Regions from separate parts of the Homo sapiens genome. Here region 1 is linked to region 2. Evidence: promoter capture Hi-C in human tissues and cell types (Jung and others, 2019). All regions are on one chromosome and are shown on one strand. Each heading gives the region's core, a stretch centred on a gene start or on the middle of the fragment in contact. The rest is flanking DNA. Distances are from core to core; before and after follow the strand shown. Region 1 has its middle 14 kb from the start of TMEM218. Region 2 holds the start of VSIG2 (V-set and immunoglobulin domain containing 2).

What was found. The method cuts DNA at HindIII sites, captures the fragments that hold promoters and counts their contacts. A contact is called where the count stands out against the background at its distance.
Region 1: a contact is called between a fragment that was not itself captured here and the fragment with the promoter of VSIG2 in region 2, in 1 of the 25 tissues and cell types used here (aorta).

Annotation. Positions count from the first base shown.
Region 1 is chr11:125,123,325-125,127,803 of GRCh38, forward strand. No RefSeq gene overlaps it. Among named protein-coding and RNA genes, the nearest start is that of TMEM218, 14 kb to the left of the region's middle. The HindIII fragment of the contact is 3,133 bases long and covers 70-3,202 here.
Region 2 is chr11:124,749,372-124,753,784 of GRCh38, forward strand. It overlaps VSIG2 (V-set and immunoglobulin domain containing 2), which reads right to left and starts at 2,884. Exons shown (of 7, transcript NM_014312.5): 1 at 2,706-2,884; 2 at 2,052-2,209; 3 at 1,343-1,550; 4 at 337-495. The coding sequence starts at 2,766. It overlaps ESAM (endothelial cell adhesion molecule), which reads right to left. Exons shown (of 7, transcript NM_138961.3): 7 at 3,755-4,413. The coding sequence ends at 4,275. RefSeq lists an enhancer at 2,082-2,643. The HindIII fragment of the contact is 14,367 bases long and covers 1-4,413 here.

The DNA.
Region 1 (4,479 bases), core at 386-2,885, 370 kb after region 2:
AATATTCTAGTGTGAGTTAAGGACCAGGTTCAGGGAAATGAGTGTCAAGAGCTGAAAAGTGTGTGAAGGGTCTTGAATGCTATGATAAGGAATTTTGGCTTTATTCTGTAGGTGAAGGGTTTAGCTAAGTCAGAAGTATTTAAGCAGGAGAGTAAATAACACAATCAGATTGATCAACTTCATAACTCTATTGCACAAGGAAATAAGTTCAATTTAGCAAAACTTATTCTTAATGAATCCACTTTGGTTCTAGCATGAATTGACCACTAAACATCTGATTAACGAGTACGTCAAACTTTTTGTGTGTGTTTTGCCCTGCTATTATGTTTTTCCTGACTTTCACTTTGACCTGTTGGCCTCTTGGCTTTATTTTTCCCTTAGGCATCTGGGTTCTGCATTCCCTTGATTTATTTGTCCACCCACAGCTTGCTCTGACCTTTATTATTTAACGTGTCCTCTGACTTTGGCTCACTTACTGGATTCTGAGCCACGGCAATTCCTTGACCTCAGTCCTGGATTTGCTTCTGCTTTGGAATTCCCACCTGATTTCAGTTGCCCAATTGTGCTGTGACCTCTGCATTCTGTCCTGCCTTGGATCTAACCTGGTCTCATCCTTTGTGTTGCTGTCTCTGCCTCAGTTCTTCTAGTCTAGCTCCCCAGCCCGCAAGTTATACACACTGTTTGCTCACCTGGGCTCCAGTACTGGCAATAAAATGTAACCTGTCCTTTCTAGAAGCTGTGGTGTGGTTGAAGAGATAGTGCTAACATGCAAGAAATTATAAATTCTAACTGATTGCCAAATTGGACGTGCTAACTGAAAGTGTTATACGAACTTAGAGAAAAGACTGAACTGGGAAATTCAAGACCCTTAGGAGTAATGTTCCTTTCTAGGCAACTTCCTTTCTGAAAGATTTTGCTATCTGGAGCACGGGCTTTTCTTTGGAAGGAGAAAGGGAAATGTAAGGCAGGACTTCCTCTGGACTTTCCTATCATTGGTTCCAAAGCTGCCTATCTTTGAGGAGCTACCTTGTCGGTGCCACCTAGTGGCTGCTGCCACCAGAAATCCTACCCGCCTCAAGGAGAGAGCAATTTAACGCCATTTCCAACTTAAGCACCATATCTACAGGGCGTGAAATTAGTTCCAGCAAGCAGCAAATTTGCTGCTAATAAAAATATTTAGCGATTCACTTGTCTTTAAATCAGCAGCAGAATATTCTTTTACTTGCATCAGTGCTTGTTTCTCCCAATTCTAATATTTGATAATCAAGCTAGACGTGTTTAGCTAAAGCTATGAAACAGCAAGTTCTTCAGTTCTGCAAAAATTTTTTAGTTTCCTGAGCAAGAATTTTTATTTCCTTTTTTCTCTTTGTCAGAAATAGGCCTGGGTGTTCCTTGGATCATAGAGATGGAGCACTTCCACTGATTTCAGAGTCTTAGAAATAAGCTTTCATTCTCTTCTGTCTGCCAACATTAGCTCCTGAGTCACTGCATGTGGATAATCTGGGATGTTACAGGAAGACATGATCTCTAGCTCATGTTTAGACACTTCCTTTTTTTTTTTTTTTTTTTTTGAGACAGGGTCTTGCACTGTCACCCAGGCTAGAGTGCAGTGGCGTGATCTCGGCTCACTGCAACCTCCGCCTCCCAGGTTCAAGCGATTCTCCTGCCTCAGCCTCCCAGGTAGCTGGGACTACAGGCATGTGCCACCACGCCAGGCTATAGACACTTCTTTACTCTGTCTCAGTGCCAAACTCATTTTAGTTCCTTTTCTGTGTCTTTTAGCCTCTACACCAGAGCAAGAGTTCTCTGAATCCCACAGAGATATTGTAGAATGCTAAAACTACTTTTTCATTAAAGTCGACGAGTATTTATTGGGCACTTTCCATGTGCATCCATTGTTCTAGGTCCTGTTTGGGGTCAGAAGTGTTCCAAGAAGCCCAGCATGACAGCCAGATGAGAAACTGACATGGCAGATGACACCTCTTCTCCAGGTTGCTGGAACAGTGGGTCAGATAGACTTCTATGTATTTTTCTTCTCCTTAAGGAGCTCATAGAAGGAACAAAGTGCATCGGACATTCTACCCTTCATCAGTTTATTAGTCTAAGGGTCTCTGTTTGAGCAGATCACTAGTTCCAAAGACCAAATAATCTTTCTTTCTTTTTTTTTTTTTGAGATTGATTCTCCCTCTGTCGCCCAGGCTGGAGTGCAATGGCACAATCTTGGCTCACTGCAACATTCCCCTCCCAGATTCAGGTGTTTCTCATGCCTCAGCCTCTGGAGTAGCTGGGATGACAGATGTGCACCACCACACCCAGCTAATTTTTCTATTTTTAGTAGCGAGGGGATTTTGCCATGTTGGCCAGGCTGTTATTGAACTCCTGGCCTCAAGCAATCCACTTGCCTCTGTCTCCCAAAGTGCTGGGATTACAGGCATGAGCCACCATGCCTGGCCCCCAATAATCTTAAAAAAGAGTATAGTGGCCCCATGGTAACTCTGTCTTCTGCCCCAGAACAGCCCTGGCTGGATTATCCTCCTGGTAGAAATCAATTTTGATCATCCTGGCAGGAAATCAGGATACAGGGCAGCTTCAGACAGGAGTACCACATCCTTCTCAGAAATCAACCAACATGAGATGCTGAGTGAAAGCTGGTCTCTTGGTTAAGAGACGGATGTAGGCAGGGCTGGTAACAAGTAGTTAGAATCAAAGACTCAAACTAAACCTGCTAGCTAACACCAGCTTCACTGATGGAGATACCAGAGCAGGTAGGTTGCAGAGAGGTAATGACATTTGACAATGGTCAAGAGACCAACATGGAGGTTCTCATTGGAGCCTCCAAAATGGAGGCTCTCTTGTTGGAGCTACAATGGTTTGGGGATCAGAGCATCTGGGCTCTATTCTTGGCCTTTTCTCTCAAGTTCATGACTCTAATACAGCCCCTTCTCCCCTTTGGCATTAGTTTTCTCATCTATAAGAAGGGGTAATGAATTTTACTCCCCATCCCAGGTCCCCTTACTGCAGTATGAGAAGGGTGAGATAGGGACTATTTTAAAGGGCTGTGAGAGAGTCTCCAGAGAGGGCTGTGATGAACATCTGTATTCCTCATGGAATGGACAGCCCAGGAGGATGGTACATTTAAGTAAGACAAAGCAAGACTCTTCTAATGGTAAGAGATGTAAGACCAGTAAATTGGATCACGTGCCCTGGATGATATGTAATTCCCTCATAGTGCTCTAGCCTCAAAATCCCAAATATTGGTGAGGATCTCCCAAAGCTGCTAATGTCAAAAACTTTGATTTTACTGTAGTTAAAGTGATGGAAATCATTAGCTTTAAATTACTGGGGAAATATAAAAGATGATTTGAGGGGTAAGCTCTATCAATTATGTACTTAAGCAAGAACCAGACTCAAGATCAGGAAAAAAAAAATAAATAAAACCAAATACGTTCATAATTAGAATAAAAATGTTCTCCAGTCCTGGTCCTGTCTTTCTCACATGTCCATATGTAATCAAGAAAGGCTTTCCAAGAGTGAATATCCAAGGAAACAGGTAACTTGGTGGATGCAGATTGAACCTAAGGCATCTAGGATGGAGCAGAGCAGAAGTCCACTGGGGAGCAGGGAACATAAGCAGCAGATAAAGGAGCTATGAGAAGAATTGGAGAGAAAGGAGGGAGCTGGCAGATGAAAGCCCTGGGGACTTCTGTGAGTCCCTTGACCCTAGAGGCAGAGCTGCCAGAGGCTGAAGAGAGGAACGAGGAGACCAGAGCAAGGGTGCAAGCTCTTTCTGCAGGGCAGCCTGGTCCGTTGGCAGTCTCCCAGTTGCTTCTCATCTTAACGTCCTTTAGGTCAGTGGTTTGCTTCTCCATTTCCCATTCCAGCAGCTTTACCTTAGCCAGCTACCACACAGGCAAGAGATCACAAGCCTACAGCCCTCTTGCTGTCGGGTGCCAGAGTTGGGTCAAAAGTCATGCAGATTCTGTGGATGAATTAAGGTGTCTAATTCATGTATGTTTCTCAGTCATTTCTCTTGACAGCATGAATCATGGGCCAGTCATCAGGATTCCCAGAGTTCTCCTTGACGGATGCACATGAAAGGTAGTGCCTTAGCAGCACCTCCGCAAAGTCCTGATAAACTCAATCCTAGGAGGTTGGTAATTCCAAACCTAGGCTGAGCAGAGCACATGATCAGGGATCAGTAGTCAAAAAGGCCTTTATGGATAGAATGAATAGTGCTCAGGGGCATTCACTTATTCTGCCATCTCAGAAAGGGACACGGGTAATGCGTTGGTTCATAAAACAGGCTGGGCATTTGCAGAATTTCTAAGTGGTTAGATTGATGATCTTCATTAAAACTAGTTGTCTCAGAGGTCATAGATCAAGTACTGTAGTTTTTCTTTAAGGCAAGTTTGATCACCTCCCTGCTCCTTAGCATCAAGGATATGGATTATTGAAATCAAGACTGGATATTGTGTATGA
Region 2 (4,413 bases), core at 1,634-4,133:
GGAAGTTTGGAAGTGGTCCACGACCCTTAGGAAACCTAAAAGAAATCTCCCCAAGGCAGATGGGTGGTCATCATCAGATTGCTCCCTGCCCTCTACTCTCTTCCAGGATATCAGCAGTATATTCAGCTTGAGAAATACCCCCAGGATCATGCAGCCACAGACTGCAGAAAGACAGGCAGGAGGGAACAATACAGGAAGCCAAGGAAGAGACAGGGAAAGGTATAGTGGTTTGTGTCATACCCCTAGTCATGGAACGGATAATACGGGTGTGTGGGATTTAGAGACCAGATTTGCCCAGGTCTCCAGTACCCTCTTCCTGATGCCCTGGGCCCTTACCTTGAACCATGCTGCCAGGAGAAGGTGTAGGAAAAGTTCCAAGACGCACCCAGTTGTACACTGGCTTAGGAGCCCCCTCGGAAGAGCTGCATCTCAGTGCAGTAGAGCCTCCCACAGAGGTTTGTCCACTCTGACTGCATAAGGGATTACTGGGGGGAACTGCAAAAAAAAAAAAAAAAAAAAAAAAACAGAAAGTTCCTCAGCAATCTTCCAGCCCCACTCCCAACTCCATTAGGTGCTACATTCTCTACTTCAATACCCCTATCAAACAGTGGTCCTCTTGGGTCCACACACCACTGCATCCCCAGGAACTGAGGGATTTCCACTATTGGAAATTCTGATTGTTAGAGAAAATTCTTCTTCATGTTGAGCCAAAATGTGTGTTAACATAACCTCCACCCATTGGTTTCAGTTCCTGCCCTTTGGGCCCACAAAGAGAAATTAAAATCTCTCCTCCACATGACAGCCCTTTGGATAGTTGAATCCAGCAGTAATACACCCATCCGAGGCCTTCTCTTTTCCATCTAAACACTGCCAGTCTCTGTGATAGTTTTTCTGGTTGCTCATCTCTGAAAAGGCTCTAGTTTGGGGTGAGACAGAAGCTCTGAGCACGAAGTTGGTGCTCAGTAATAGGGGCCCTTGTTCCTTTGGTGGCCACTCCCCTTCTCTGCCATTGACCTTGGGAGGGACAGAATCCAACTACCGATGAGAGCCTCCCCCATGATGGAGCTGCTGGGAGCAGGCTCAGATCCCCATGTATGGGAAGGACTTTCTCTCACACACTCTGTTATTAGGCTCTGATGGAGGAGATGCTCTCGGTGGAGGGTGGAGTTGGAGTATGACCATCTGAATTAGAAGACTTGGAAAGGGAGTATTTTCACTTGGGGCCCCCAGTGCAGTTGTGTGCTTGGGCTAAAAGTCAGAAACCAGAGATTTAGCAAGACCAGTGCAAACGCCCCAAGTATGTGAAAGAGTATGTGGCTCGTGGATCCCCAGTCTGCCTTACCCAGCACAGTAAGGTTGATTAGCCCCAACCCATTGGTGTAGAAATCTGGTGGGTTGTTGACTTGGCAGAGGTAGGTTCCAGTATCTGAGGGGTGGACGTCAGTCAGTTTCAGTGTGGCCACCCCCACTGTGGGGGGGTTCTGAAGCAGGCTGACCCGCTTTGACTTAGAACCAGTTGGATACAGATGGCCATTGGTGAAGTACAGGATCTGGGGAGAGGCAGAAGACACACATATGTGCCTGTTTCTGCCTGGCATCAACTCTACAGTCCTTCCTCATCAAAGTGGGTATAAGAGGCCTCTGACTTACATCAGCCAGGGAGGCTGATACCCTTAAGCTGGAACTCCAAAGGTCTCTCTGTCCCCAAACACCACCCCCTTTCAGGTGCTAAATGAACCTGATCCATTGGTCTCTCTCTCTCTCTCTCAAAGAGAGAGGCAGAAGAGGCAGCATATTATCTTGGTATCAGTCACAACACCTTAGTGTCAATGGATACACTAAGGCAGGGGAGTTGGAAATAGGAGCTATGGAAGAGGAAAGGAAGATACACGGTCAGGCAGACTGCAGCTCTGAAAAGATCTAGGGAGAGCCCACTTACCTTTTCATCCAAGCATACTGATCCCCAAACTCCCCCTCCCGACCCCATGCCCTCATCCTGGGCTCCTGTCCCTCCAGGCCAACCCAGCTTCATGCAGTCGCTCTCAGCTCACTGGATGGGACTCAGAGATGGGTTTCCCAGGCTGCACAAAGCTCCACTCCAGGGCGAAGCTGTCTCCCACCGACGTGCTGTAGGTGCAGGTCAGCTCGGCTGTCTTCCCCAGGGGCGTGCTCAGCGGCTCTGTGGGTACCTTCACCTCCACGGCCAGCCCTGGGGCCGGGGACCAGAGGGAGGTGGGAACCCAAATTCCAGTGATCTGGAGGGTCGGGCCCACCCCCGGGCATCTATATTGGAAGCTGGGGGCTCCCTCCCCAGAGCACAACCCTCTCCCCTCAATCCAACCCCTCCCTTCCCAAAACCTGAGGTTTCCGGGAGGGGCCGGGTCTTTGTGGGTAAAAGAGCCGGAACCGGGCCAGGTAAGAGGGTGTGTGTGTTTAGCAGAGAAAGGAAAACACTAGCCCTGCGGTGGGGTGGTTCAGGCCTGTGCCGCGGAGAGGCCCAACTCGCTCGCCGGCTTGGGGGTCTCTCTCCTACGCCCTCCGGGCCTTGGACACCCCCTCTCCGGCCTCACCTCAGGCGCCTTAGGGCCCCTGGCGCCCACGGCAGCCTCATCTGGCCTGGCGGGGACAGAGTGGGTCCGAGGAGCCGGGGAAGCCAGGCCTATGCCCCCCAGCCCTCGCCGTGGTCCCGCCCGGCCCCTCCTCACCACTCAGGCACAGGAAGCCTAGCAGGGCCCCGCAGAGAAAGGGCCCCGGGAGCTCGGCCATGGCCGCGTCCGGCCGTCCTGTCCTGCTCCTGCCAGGTGGGCGGTCAAGGTCGGTCTGGGTGTCGGGCAGGGAAGGGAGCACCCAAGGGCAGCCGCCCGGGCTGGGCAGGAGCGAGACTGGTATCTCAGAGCAAACAGGGGAGAGGCCGGCGCCGCAGGTTAAAAAAAAAAAAAAGTGCTCCTCCCTCCTCTCCTCCAGCCCCGATTCTGCAATCCCTCTGTCCCTTCTTCCTCCTTCCTTCCTCTTCTCCCCAAGGTCTGAAGCTGTCCGGCCTTGGGAAAAGCGCTGGGCTTGGGGTGGGCCTTCTGCAGAGACGGAAGGAAAGCTGACTTTGGAAGGCGTCCTGATACCCCAGAGCTGGCAAGGGGAGTCCCCACCTCGGAGCCTCACTGTGAGTGTGAGCCCCAGGCCGCAGACCCTTCCTGTCCACAGCGCTTTTCATTTCACCACTTACTGAGGTAGGAGTCTCTGTAGAAATGAGCATCTCTCCATTTCCAGAGCCACTCCATTTTAGGGGCAGAGAAACTGAGACCTAAAGGAGACCTCACCCTTGGTAGGAAAGAACATGGCAGAACTTGGACACAGACCTGCACCTCATACTATGCCCAGCTCTCCCTCAGTAACAACAGAGATCTCTTCCAGATGGGCAAGGAGTGTTTTGTTAAGGATTCCGTGGTGTGGGAGAGGAGCCCACGTGAGCTTCCTCTCCCCTGTCCCTGAAGAGGAAGCAGATGAGGTACACGTACCCCCTAGCCGGGAGCACTCAAGCTCCAGCAGAAAGCGTATCAACTCCATCCCTCTGCTGTTCAGAGTAGCTTAGAGTCTCCTCCCCTTCTCCACGTGACAAACAAGGACCCTTCTAAACACTAGAAGAGCTGCTCTAAGCCTGTGGGGGGAAGCCCTCCTGGGTACACAGCTTGGGAAGGGGTCCACTTTGCATCCTCCTGAAGCTCAATTTCAAGAATTCTTAGTTTGAAAAGGCAACTTGTTTCTTATCTCATACAAACATTATGTATCTTTATTTAAATTTGCAAATGAAAACAACACATATTTCATGTTAGTTTTAATAAGAGATTCCCTATCCTCTGCCCCAGTAAAACCTAACCAAGCCAGCCTGACAGGTTATATCAATACAGGGAGCTGGAGTGGGAGCCAAGGGTGGTGTTAGATAGGGGTGGGGTACAGATCAAGGGGGCCTGGGAGACTCAGTGACTGGAAGTCTCTGCCCCTCACTCTTGGTGAGTAGCTAATTTCAGCAGCTGGCTTCATAAGGAGGAGTCAGGGGTGGGTGGAGGCTCCTCCCAATTCCAGATCCACTTCCTCTTCTCCTTCTGTCTCCTGGACACTTAGGTCTTACTGAGATGGTTTTCCCACAGTAAAGAGAGGTGGGGGCAGAGTACTAAGGGTCAGGAGTGTGACTCTTTCCCATGACTCAGGCCTCTGTGCTAGAGGTGACCCTTATAGGAAGGAGAGACCCCAAATCCTTTAGCCAATGAGTGGTGGGGTCATCATACCAGAGAGCCAGCTTGACTCTGGGCAGGCACCATCACAGGCACAGCACCCATGCGGCTCAAGCCAGAGGAAGAAACCCCACCAGGGATGGGGGATATTGGTTGAGGGTGGGCCCCATCTGTCGTGGGCAGTCTT